Linked DNA regions of Homo sapiens: region 1 is linked to region 2. Evidence: promoter capture Hi-C in human tissues and cell types (Jung and others, 2019). All regions are on one chromosome and are shown on one strand. Each heading gives the region's core, a stretch centred on a gene start or on the middle of the fragment in contact. The rest is flanking DNA. Distances are from core to core; before and after follow the strand shown. Region 1 overlaps MTMR2 (myotubularin related protein 2). Region 2 holds the start of MTMR2 (myotubularin related protein 2).

Evidence for each region. Contacts are between HindIII fragments. The study calls those that stand out against the background at their distance.
Region 1: a fragment that was not itself captured here is called in contact with the fragment with the promoter of MTMR2 in region 2 in 2 of the 25 tissues and cell types used here (hippocampus and mesenchymal stem cells).

What each region holds. Positions count from the first base shown.
Region 1 is chr11:95,861,414-95,867,975 of GRCh38, forward strand. It overlaps MTMR2 (myotubularin related protein 2), which reads right to left. Exons shown (of 15, transcript NM_016156.6): 3 at 4,188-4,263; 4 at 859-953; 5 at 579-689. Among named protein-coding and RNA genes, the nearest start is that of MTMR2, 59 kb to the right of the region's middle. The HindIII fragment of the contact is 3,285 bases long and covers 822-4,106 here.
Region 2 is chr11:95,920,709-95,926,826 of GRCh38, forward strand. It overlaps MTMR2 (myotubularin related protein 2), which reads right to left and starts at 3,399. Exons shown (of 15, transcript NM_016156.6): 1 at 3,167-3,399. The coding sequence starts at 3,246. RefSeq lists enhancers at 3,377-3,426, 3,487-3,616. The HindIII fragment of the contact is 5,565 bases long and covers 2,934-6,118 here.

The DNA of each region.
Region 1 (6,562 bases), core at 1,214-3,713, 60 kb before region 2:
ATTATTATTATTATTATTATTATTATTTCAGACAGAGTCTTACTCTGTTGCCCAAGCTGGAGTGCAGTGGCACTATCTTGGCTCACTGCAACATCCGCCTCCCAGGTTCAAGCAATTCTCCTGCCTCAGCCTCCCCAATAGCTGAGATTACAGGTGCCCGCCACCACGCCTGGTTAATTTTTGTATTTTTAGTAGAGATGCGTTTTCATCATGTTGGCCAGACTGATCTCGAACTCTTGACCTGATGTGATCCACCTGCCTCAGTCTCTGAAAGTGTTGGGATTATAGGCGTGAGCCACCATGTCCGGCCAAGATGATCATTATTAAAAAATAAGTTATGAATTTGTGAATATATCAAAATATGTAGACTGAACTGGGCCCAAAAGAATTAAGTCTAATTCATGAATCACCTTTTCTATTACTGCTAAATTTTGTTTTCTTCTATCAATGTCATACTAAAATAACATTTCTAATTGGAAATCCATTTTATATTTTAGAAACCAATTTCAAAACAGAGGTTCTATTTAATACAAAGCTTTTCAAACCAAAGAAAATCACATACATATTATAACATTTACCTTACACACAGTTTCTAGTCCATAAGAATTTTCACCTCGACTAGAAGCACCACCAATTTTTTCTACTCTATTTATCACACCAAGGGAAGCATCTAAAACAAATGGGGGATCCTAAAGAAGGAAAGAAAAAATAATTAAAACTGAGCAATTAATACTGTCCAATTATAGAGCTGATCAAAATCTTAATCAGAAATGCTTTAATTAGAAATGATCAGAAATGAACAAAACTAGCTACAAACAACACACTCATGTACATACAAAAATCTAATCTGACTCTTACCCGTTCCATGCTTTTGAAATATAACCTATAATTCGTGACAGTCAGAGTTCCTCGTACAGCGCCAGTGAATGGACATATATAAGTTACATCTTTGGCTGAAAAAGCAAGAAGTCCACAGTTTACTATACATTATGTGCTATTAAAACCTGCTATCTCATCTTATAAAATTGTTATGATTCCTAGACTAATTTATGCTGAAAAATAACAGAACCAGTAATTTCCAGAGACCTCAGAATCCTACAACCCAAGCTTCCATCCTTGCACTAATCTGGGGAAGAAACACAGAATTAAATGGGATAGGCTGAAAAGGTGGAGGGACTTCTCATCCCATGAGACAGAATGGAAGTAAACAAAGGGGCTACTATCCTGGCTAGATAAAACAGGTGTGGGTAGCTGCAGCAGAGACGGGTGAAAGAATACTGGTAATGGTGGTATCAACAATAAGCATGTCAAGGCACAGTCGCCATCATCTCATTGCAGTTTCTATGTAACCTCACCAATTTCCTGTCCAGTTTGTCAACATTCTTCTAAAAATGCAATGTCCAAAACATATGTTATTCCACAAACTCCTGATCTGATTAATACTTATGGGGAAAATTTTACAGGTGAAATGACACACATTTAAAATATAATTTCTTAGAAAAATAACAGTATAAGAAGAGGATATTGTACTGCTGACCAACCAATGCCAGACTTTGTAAAGAAATAATCACAAGTAATGTTTTATCAAATAAACAATGGATCTACATGGCATTATGTTTTGTAAAATATGCATTAACTGATTATGCAGGATAACTTAGGAATCAGTATCTCAAAATATTATTTAAAATGCCACAGTTCATAATTTCCAATACATGGTTTTTATATCTTAAAATATTCATAAATTCCTAGTATGTCATTATTACACCAAATCAGCAGATAAAGGAGTATCTTCATCATTCCAAGGAAGTAAGGGACAATTCTGTGGAGCAACAACTTTCTAAGACCCTTTCAACGGGCTTCTGGGAAAACTTGGGGCCATGAAATATATTTAATAAGGTATTACAACCTCCTGACTTTGCTTCTCATTCAACACTTCGAAGGACTGGCTGCTTTGTATGGAATTTGAAATGAGACTGATCTTTTCACAATCATTTCTAACCTTCAAAATAGTTCCCTTAGGAACATTTTAAGTATAAACTACTTTTTTAAATCGTTTCGAATGCATATTTCATTTAGAGGGAAGCTTTTAAAATTAAATGAACCCATCATTATACAAAAATACACAAACTTGCTTTGCACAAATAATATTTTTCCCTTATGAATTTTTACCTCAACTAGAAAAGCTTTATTCAAGGTTACTAAAACATTTCTGGATTCCTTCCACAGTCAATTTTCTTACTCATGTAAGAAAACTCAGCCTTATTATCCTATATCCCACCACAGGAATGTCATTCTCAGGCCAGTGCTTTTCTGTTACATCTTCCCCTTTATTCTAAAATCATGAGATAATATACATATAAAGATGCTTCTAAAGTTCTAAGTACAATACAAAAATTCAAGGGTTTATACCTATGTTACTATTATCATCATTAGTCTTTGCTTTGTTCTGTACCCTCTATCATTCCTCAAGAGATCATGACAATGGAGAAAAGAAGATAAATACAAGAAATTCTTAGACACTGACTGGATGTTAAGAGTCCAGAAAAGAAAAAAAGAGCAGTCTAGTACGACAACCAGATTTCTGACTTGAGTAAATGGACAGCTGGTATTGATGTCAACTGAGAGAGAGAATGCAAGAAAAAGAGTAAGTTTGGAGTTAAACGTGATGATTTCCATTTTGGAGATGTTGGGTATAAGGTTCCTATGGGATATTCAAGGATGTGTGTTTAAGATAGAGGCATTTGTTTACTTACATTAGGACAGGGGTTCACACTGGAGATAACAAATTTTGGAGTCATCAGCCAATATATGGCAAGTGATGTTACAAATTTAGATATGGTCAACCGAAAAGAGTATACAGGAGGGAAAAGGGAAATGGGTCAAGGATGAAGTCCTAGGGCGTGTTGCTATTAAAGGAAGAAGAGCCAACAAATGAGACTGAGTGGTAACTTGAAGTTCTTTAATAAAGCCATATTTCATAATGGGAGCTGCAATTACGGCATTAAGTTCAGAATAAGAAAAAGAAATTGTCACAATGCTAGATATAACCTTATTAGCTAGGTTATCTTCCTATGCCTTAGTTTCCTTCCTCACCTATAAAATGGGGTTGATGTTATTCTCAAGAATATACTCTCTGAGAATGACTGAGATAGTAAGCACTCAATAATAATAACTACTATCATTATATAATAGCCAATTCTGAAAAAATGTAAGTAGGTAGTTCAGATCAAGAGCTTGGTGTATATATAAGGCTAACTGGGGAAAAGAAAAAGACTGAGAGGTTATTCAATCAAGAGCCAAGAGCAAGAAAAGACAAATAGCATGCTAAGGACTAGGAAGCTAAATTTAGTAAATAATAATCCATTTAGAATACAGGTCCTGCCTTTGGCTTGTTTTTACACATAGAAATGACACCTAGCCAAGTAAAATTCAGCATTTTTAAAATCCTTTTTAAAAATTATGATTGGTAACAAAATGAAACATGGTAGTTATATTAACTAAGAAATCATTTACTTCATTCTTCTAACATATTACTTTATTTCTCAGAGTTTATGAGTAGATATCTGTAGATTATCACACAGATGAAACAAAACAAAAGCATGAGGAAAAAAAACACAGCTTGTAAGCTCATTTTCAGTTTCCAGTCCATATTATAAGTATTAGGCTGGGCAGAGAAGGGCATCTACATACAAACAGATGCAATGGAGATGATGTATTTCATCCAAAAATTAACCTGACTTTATTCAGAGAAGAAAGACATGAAGGAAGCAAACAGAAGAGAAGATATTTTAAGAAAAATTACTTGTATAAGGTGACAATTCAATGTTTTTATCTAGGCAACTCAATATCTGAATATAGTAATTCAAAATAATAAAATTTTCCTTCACAGGCTTCAGCAACAGTTTTAGCAAAAATCCACCTACTTTTAAAGAAAGTAAAACAAACCAGAGAAGAGGCAAAGTATAATTCAATTTGCATGTTTCCCAGGAGTTCAAACACAAACACTAGCAGCGGGTCTAGGCTTACGTTTGTAGAACACACTAAGATGCTGAGAAGACTGCAGGTAAAGAGTTCTGCCAGACAGGAGGTGTCTCTGACAGCCAGTTTATTCTCTGTATGCTGAGAGTACTGAACATTCTGCACAGTAGAACGGAGAAGGACATTAAGCAAAAAATACCATTACGGACCCATGTCTTTAATATTTTCTCCTGGAAGCAAGGGTGGTTCTTCCATTTCTGCTAACTTGTTAGACTCCCTCAGGACCTGGGGTGGGAAAGACAAAAAAAGAAACATTTTTTTATTCAAAGGCTACTTTTTCACTCATATTTCAACTGAGTATACTTGCTCTTGAAGTTATAACATCATATCACATACACTATTTTAAATCAAATTTGTTAAACTGTAGTGTTGGCATGTATAATATATGAAGTTAATGTTTTTCTAGAAAGCATTTACTGAGTGCTTAAATCATATCAAAGCACTCTACATTTGTTACACAAAAAATTGTACATGTTTTTGCACTGCATCCTAAGACAGCCTAACAATAAAAGAGGTATTATATCCTCATTTCTCAGATGAGGAAAAAGCAGCCGAAAGTGGTAATTAGTTCAAGATCACATAGTTAAAGTGCCAGTGTGTAGATCTGAACTACAGTTGAATGGATTCCAAAGCCATGCTGAAGGGCCATAGTACATTTAAACTCAGACAAAATTAAGTTCTTGTGTAGATTTAATGTTTAGAGAATTTAGAAATGATGTTGATAAATCATCTTGTTGAAAAAGAGTTTAAATAAATTCATGATCAACAAATATGACCAGGTAGTTACCTTTTGAAGGATGCTACACTATATTCCAAGAATGTGGATACAGAAACAGTTCTCTAAAGGAGTTACAACCCAGAGAACACACAGACACACCCAAATTGTCATATGCTAAATATATCCCCCATTAACTACCAAAAGCCTTCCTCACCTCCTCCCACCTCTCTCACCATCAAACAGTAAATTTCTGTCTCCAATCCCATTAATTCCTCCATCTTCCGCAATCTGGCTCACCTGCGGCCAATAACTAAGAACTACAAAGAACAAATTAACTTATTTTCAATAAATTTGCAATCTAAACAAATTCATTCTTTTGAAAGTTTAACAATTTGTTTCATAAAGTAACTTTAATGCAATACCTAAAGAAATAGTATATACACACATACATATTTTTATGTGCCACATCTAAACTTCAGAAAAGTCGTCTTTAAAGGTCATCTTTTAAACACGCTATCTAGTTGCCAGTCCCTAAATAGTCTTATGTAGTCATAAAAGAAGAGAAGAAGGAAAGAAGAGAGGAAAGGAGGACCAGCCTATGAAGATGGGGTTAAAAAGGCAAAAACTTGCCATATACAAAAATATAGACTTGGGTTCACATCCTGACTGCACCACATACTAACTTGGTACTCTTAGGCAAGGTTTTCAACTTCTCTATGCCTCATTTTCCGCATCTATAAAATGGTAACTATTATAGTACCACACATAGGTTGTTATGAAAATTAAATGGGTTAATACATTTAAAGTACTTATATCAGTGTTAACACATAAGATGTATGTAATAAGTGTTGTCTACTGTTAATAAAAGTTCAAACTAACAACTAATTGCCAGAATCTGCTAATAATTCTACTAATTATGAAAGCAACAAAATTAGACCCAAAGATAACAAAACAAATATCAGAGTATACCGAAAAAAATCAACCACGTGAAAGATTATAGAAAGGAAGATGCTTTATTCTTTCCCCGGTCTACCACCTCACTCAGAAATACAACGTTTATGTCACTTATAACGCTGGGCAGTAGTTCCCATATTGCATATGTATACCTTCTTGTGGCTGCTACAGCACTGCTCCACATGACTTCCTTTTTCTCTACATTTCTACATTCAGAAAGGACCAGCAACCCCCGGAAAATATTTATGTTATGTACAGAAGAGAAGAGGGTAGTTCTGGCAAAGGCACACAGAAACATGGGAGACACAATCCTCCTAAAGCTTCATAAAGTGAGAAAAGAGACAGGAAAACTCATGCAAGCAGCACACTTTGAGAACCACACATAGGCTTTCTTATATTCTCTCTGACCAGAATGTCAAAGAGCGAGGCAATGAAAAGAAGCAATACAAGATCCTATCTTTGTCCAGCAGAGCTGCTCTAGATGACAGACTTTTAACAATAGGCTTATGCTAAAGGTTGTATATAAACAACTAATTCTACACTGGAGATAGGAAAAGGAACTCCAACTAGCACTCAAGTGAACAGAACAGGGATGGGGCAATCTAGACCCTGTGTTTGTTGACAAACACTGATTCTAGACAAATCTATCCTTAATCAAACAGGAGAAAAGAGACTAGGAAAAAAAAGGCCTAGAAAAAAAAAAAAAAGACTTACAAAGAAAAGAGAATATCAACCCGAAACTTTAAAAAAGAAAGCAGTCTTCTGAAAATAATTCTCTATAGGCATTTGTAAAAGCATGTATAAGGTACTTGGCACACTCAAAAGGAAATAAGCCATATTTTCTAATAAACA
Region 2 (6,118 bases), core at 2,149-4,648:
GTAATCCAACTTCAATGGAGTATGTCATTTTCATTTTTTAAAATATTTTTACTTATTTTAAAAAGTCTTTCTTTTTTAGAGATGGGGCCTCACTATGTTGCCCAGGCTGGTCTCAAACCCCTAGGCTCAAGTGATCCTCCCACCTTGGCCTCCCAAGTGCTGAGATTACAGGCATGAGCCATGGCACTCGGCCAAGTATGTCATTTTCAAAAAACAATGGGCAACCACATGGATTAGTGTATCATCCTTCCTACTTCCCAAAAGGGCTTCAGACATCTAATCAATACATTTAAACATAACACATAATATTTAACTTGAGTTCATGTAATAATAAAAGTACTTAAAGAAATTAGAGATGAGTATATTACCACCTTCAGATATAAATTTGACTAAAGTTTTACTAAGCTAAAGAGAAAGACGCAGTTATATAGTTACCACTTACTAACAAACAAGGAGCATACATAATTTTTTCTATAAATAATTTTCTTTGTAGCTAAACTCAGCAGAAATTTATGTTAATGCATGTGTGAAAAACATTCTGTGACACATTTAACAATATTAACTATTATTCTGCCAGAGATATCAAAACAAATTCCAAAGGCAGTTTCCCAATTAGGCCTCTGTATAAAAACAGAAAGCATAAAAATAAACTACAATTTAAGGGAATCATTTCTGCAAAAACTGAGATAATATAGGCCAAACAGCAATAATTTTGCTTTGTCAAAGGCTAATGAAACAAAAGAAATAACTTAAACAATCTAGATAGACACTTAACATAGCTATGAGACCAAAGCAGGCCACACTGGCAATGTATTAGAGTCACCTGCGATGAAGTGTTAGCCTAGATTGTTTAAAATTAAGCTTTCTAACTAGTGTCTATAATGTATCTATTACATACTGTTGATTAAGGAGAGTGCCACAAACAGGTATGATGATTAATGAAATAAAAGATACATAGAATTTAGCAGGGAAACTTCCATACAGTAGACATTAAGTAAATGTTACTTTTCTACCTTCCAGAGGAGAGTAATGAAAGCTGGCATTCTCTTATGGAAAATAGGAATCATACTTATATTTTTGTCCAGAGAGGATTAGGCTAATCTACTATATCACAATTCTCTCGAGGAGTACTTAATTTTCTCAAATTTGTCAGTAACATAATTTTTTATAGAGAAGTTCATATACATATATAATCTTTATACTTGCTGGGCTTTCTGTTTTAGGAAATAAATATGTTCAAGTGGCACCGTTAGGTATATTAGTTTGTAATAATAAAGGACACTTATTTCGTGTAATTGCAAAAATCCAAAACAAAGGTTATTTGCAAAGGAATTATCTTTAAAATTAATATCAATGCATTCATCTTAGTATTGTCATTAAAATTTTAAAAATGACAATGTTAGAGTTCCAAGGGACCTTACAGATTTTCTAGATCAAGCTTCTTATTTTAAAAGATGAGAAAACTGTAGACTAGAAAGTCTAAATGAAAAGACCAAAGAGCTAGCTCAGCCAGAGACTTCAGCATGGGAGCTTCCTAACTTCCAGTACTTCCTTCTTTCTAACATACTGTGCTGCTTCATGTGGTTCTAACTTCTCTGCCTTGGATGAGAGTACTGGTTGCCTCTTATGCTATTCTGAGGCATAGTTGTCATTTGTAACTTTCCCATAAAATTCGAATTTTCCAACCTGTTTTCTGAATGAATTACACAACTGAACATGTTAATCCTCAGCTTTCCAAATTTCAAAGCAATAAATACAGAATTCAAAAAATACTTGATTCAAACGTGCAATATATATAATCAAACTGCAAAGAAAAATCCTCCTTTCCTGGATAATTCAGGCTACAAATTCGAAAAAAAAAAAACCATTTAGTGAGCACCTATCACATGCTGAGACTATGTTAAGTGCTGGAGATATGAAGATGATTAAGATTGCCCTCAAGTATAATAGCTTATAACCTGGTAGAAAAGGCACTTTAAGCCAACAATTATAGTGTGCTTATTAAAGACTCTGAAAAACGACTGTGCAGGGAGCTATGAGTGCATATGGCAATGTAGAATGACGGGATCAGACAGTGGTTCCCCAGTGAGGTGCTGAACATCAACAGGAAAAAAGGCAATAACTACCCATATTTAGCAGAATCCAAAATGAATTATAATAGAGCCACTTCAACTGATTGAAGGAGAAAATGAAAATTGTGTGTTTTCACACAGCAGTTATCGAATCACTCTCTAATAACAATTAGACTATTATTCAGTGGAAAAGAACCAGATTTCATCGTGGCTGCATAAAAAGCAAATACAGGTCTTATATTATTTTTTAAAAAATTTTTAAATCATTATTTTAAAATCAAAGAAAAAGACTGCATCCAAAACGCGTCTAGTTAATATTCATAAAAGCTCTCTGCAAAGCTGCATAAAGTCCTCCTCAAAATTCCAGGATAAAATTCCCATCTGTTACAAGAGAAATGACAACGTGGAGAACCAGTAGCCCAAGAAGGAAGAAAACTACCACTCATTTTGTTTTCTTAAACCTATCACTGGGGATAAAAACCACTCAGATTCCTTGATACTGACTTTCAGCTGGAAGATTTAGAAAAGAGAAGCACAGGAGACATTTTTATTTACATATTTAAGCAAAAAGGGAGGCGAGAAGAAAATCAGAGTGTAGAGAAAAGCATGAAAGAAATTAAGAAGGTGAAGCCATGAAAAGAGAGAAAAGGGCTGGGCAAGAACCCAAAAACCAAAGACATAAGAAGGGGTGGAGGAGGAAAGACTGACTTTAGGATGGTTTTGGAAAAAGTGACAGAGAAAGACAGGAAATGTGGGGAAAAGAATGGGGGCGGGGGGAACTGTCTTAAAAAAGGTTTGAGAGGGAATGAAAGACAGGAGAAAGTAATTAACTGGGACCACCTCCATCGGGGAGAAAACGAGATCGGAATATGAAAGGTAGAGGAATCGATAAAGAAGCAGCGAGTTTTAACCTCCTTTTCCTCAGCCTCCACGCCCCAGGGAGGGAGGCAGAAGTGGTTCCCAAGTCCCGGGGAAGGAATTCCGGCGTAGCCTTCAGAAACCAGAATCCGCGAATTGGGGCAACAATCCAGCAGGTCCCCGGCCCCTCTCCATCCCCTTCGGACGCTGGGCGGGGCCCTGGGCGTCCTGGTTACCTGGACAAGGAGTCCACGCTGGGCGGCCGAGCCGCCGCCGGCTGGGAGCCAAGACTCTCGCAGCTCGAGCTCTTCTCCATCGCGCGGCAGGGGCAGCACAGGGAAAGGCTGAAGCAGTCTTCGCGGCTACAGGGCGGGAGAAGCGGAGGGCGGAGTGCTACGGACCGGGGCCGCAGTCAGGCCAGCGCCGGCCCGGGAGGGAGACCGGAAGCGGCCATGTTCCCCCAGAGTGCACCGCGCCTGTAGGCTGCTGGGCAGCGGGAAGACCCCACTGCGCAGCTCAGACGCCGGCATCGACTCTCCGTGCTGGCTGTGTCCGGCCGCGCGACATCTGGTCTTGGGGAAAGGGAGGTGGCGGCTCCCAGGGTGAGGGGGTCTGGTGAAGCGGGAGGGATGAAGGACCAGACCCTTATGGAAGGAGGAGAAATCCTAGGTGTAAGAGGAATGAGGGAACACTAAACATGAGGGTCTCAGGAAGGCGATAAGGACCTGAGGCCAGGAGGATGATTTAGACAGGAATGTGGGGGTCAAGGAAAACAAGAGGACCGGATAATGAGAGAAAAGTGAGAAAGAGGTATGGGAGAGGGATTGGGGAGGATCTGATATACATGCAAAAAGAATTATATACTACTGGATGCGGTGGTGTTGGATTACCCAAGTAGAAGACAAACTTTCACCGATTTTTCCCTGCCCTTTCAAATTCCCGTGCCTAGCAGGAAGGGAGTGTGGAGGAATAGAACTGTGATAAGAGAACAGGAACTGGGTAAAGGGGAAATGCTTCTGCTAGGATTTTTCTGTTAGGATACAGGAAAGCCATAAGGACACCATAAAGGGATTTTTCTGATTGAGATTGAATCCTAATCATCTCATGTATGGGGTGTAAAATTATGCAAAGATTATTCCTGTAAAAAAAAAATCAGACCATCCTTAAAAAACTTCCTTGCTAGGATAAATTGAATTATATTGATTTAAACTAGATTTAATTTATAATGTACAACTGATGTCTTTTAAAAAACCTTATAGTTGCAGTGCAGTATTAACTTGCAAGTACATTCCCAAGAAGAACAACCTAGCTTAGTTATGTTCAGTGTAAGGTAGAATAGTTACTGATGAGTATGTGTTTAAGCACAAAAGGCTTAGCCTTTTTTGAGTTTGGCGAGGACAGACAGCGACCGATTGTTTTTATTTCCATAATTTTTAAGATACCTTAACTGGACTCTGTAGGCAAAGGGAGTAGGTAGTCAAAAACATTTTTTAACAAGCTTAAATATCTATCATGACTCATAGAAGAATTTCCTTATTTCTTCACCATCTCTACCTGCCTTCCAAAATGCTGACTCACTGTCAGCTACTTTGACTTAAATTTCCTTAGTGAAGGCTGATGAACCCTTGAATGGGAGACCTATGTACTTTCTTCCACCCAGTTCATTCGTAGCACTTTGTTAATAGAACCCTCGAAACCTTCTGCCTGATGTAACAATATGTGTATGGTTCTATCTAGTGATTAATAAAGAACAGTGTAGTAAAAGTGTAGAGACTTTGGAACCAGACAGATCTTCATCGGAATCCCGGTTCTGTCTCTACACTTGCTCTGTGCTGTGGTTAAGTTGTTTCACATCTCTAAAATGGGAATAAAATGGGAATAAAAATATCTACGTAATAGGTTGTTTTTCTCTGTGCAGAGTCGGTTGCACAGTACGGTCTCACTAAGTAGATTTATTATTACTTGTTTTTCCACTGAACTTACTGCTTGACTTCTAACCTGACTGGTAAAATGGTAACTTCTCAGAGTGAAAACACAAGCAAAGAATATCAGCTGGAAATTAATTAGTGAACTCTAATTAATTAATGAACTCTAAGAAAATGAAAAAACATGGTTAACTTGGGACCTCACCAAAAGTTATTAATTTTTCAATTTATAATCTGGGCTGTTTTTTCTCAAACTATCTGCAAGAAGGAACAGTGTTTTGTTTTTAATTTTCAAACCATCACCAACCAAAACTTTTTTAAAATATAAGAAAAATTAATCACAGTTGGTTCCATATCCTCAGATTCAACCAACCACAGATTGAAAAATTTGTAAAAATTGTAAAAAACAAAATAATACAAATAGAAGACAATACAGTATAACAACTATTTACATAACATTTACATTGTATTAGATATTATAAGTAATCTAGAGTTGATTTAAAGTATACAGGAGGGTATGCATAGGTTATATGTAGACACTAATGCCATTTTATTTAAGAGACTTGAGCATCTTTAGCTTTTACTATCCTTGGGGGTCCTGAAACCAATAACCTGCAGATACTAAGGGATAACTGCACTAGGAAAATTAAAGAAAAAGGTTTGCAAAATACAAGGCCAAATTGTTTATTAGATTTAACAGATATTACTCCTTGAAAGTTTCGTGAAAGTTCCTAAACACTTATTCTCAATATTGCGTTGATCTCATCATAGACTGACAACAGTTCATGTATGGGTACTACACCAAAAAACCATTGAGATCTCATAAATTAATAAAGTTGCAGAATACAAAATCCACATCCAAAATTAGTTTGCATTTCTATGCATCTATAATGGCCAAAAAAGAAATCAAGAAGGCAATCCCATTTACAAAAACTGCAAAACAAAAACAAACAAACAAAAACCAGGAATAAGTTTAACCAAGGAAATGAAAGACCTCTACAAGAAAAACTATAAAACTCTGATAAAGGAAATTGAAGAAGATGCAAATAAATGGAAAGACATTTCATGCTCATGGAACAGAACAATTAACATTGTTAAAATAACCATACTACCCAAAGCAATCTACAAATTCAATGTCTATCAAAATATCAGTGTCATTTTTCACAAAAAAAGAAGAAAAATTCTAAAATTCACATGAAACTAAAAAAGAGCCTGAATAGCCAAAGCAATCCTGAGCAAAAAGAACAAAGCTGGAGGCATCAG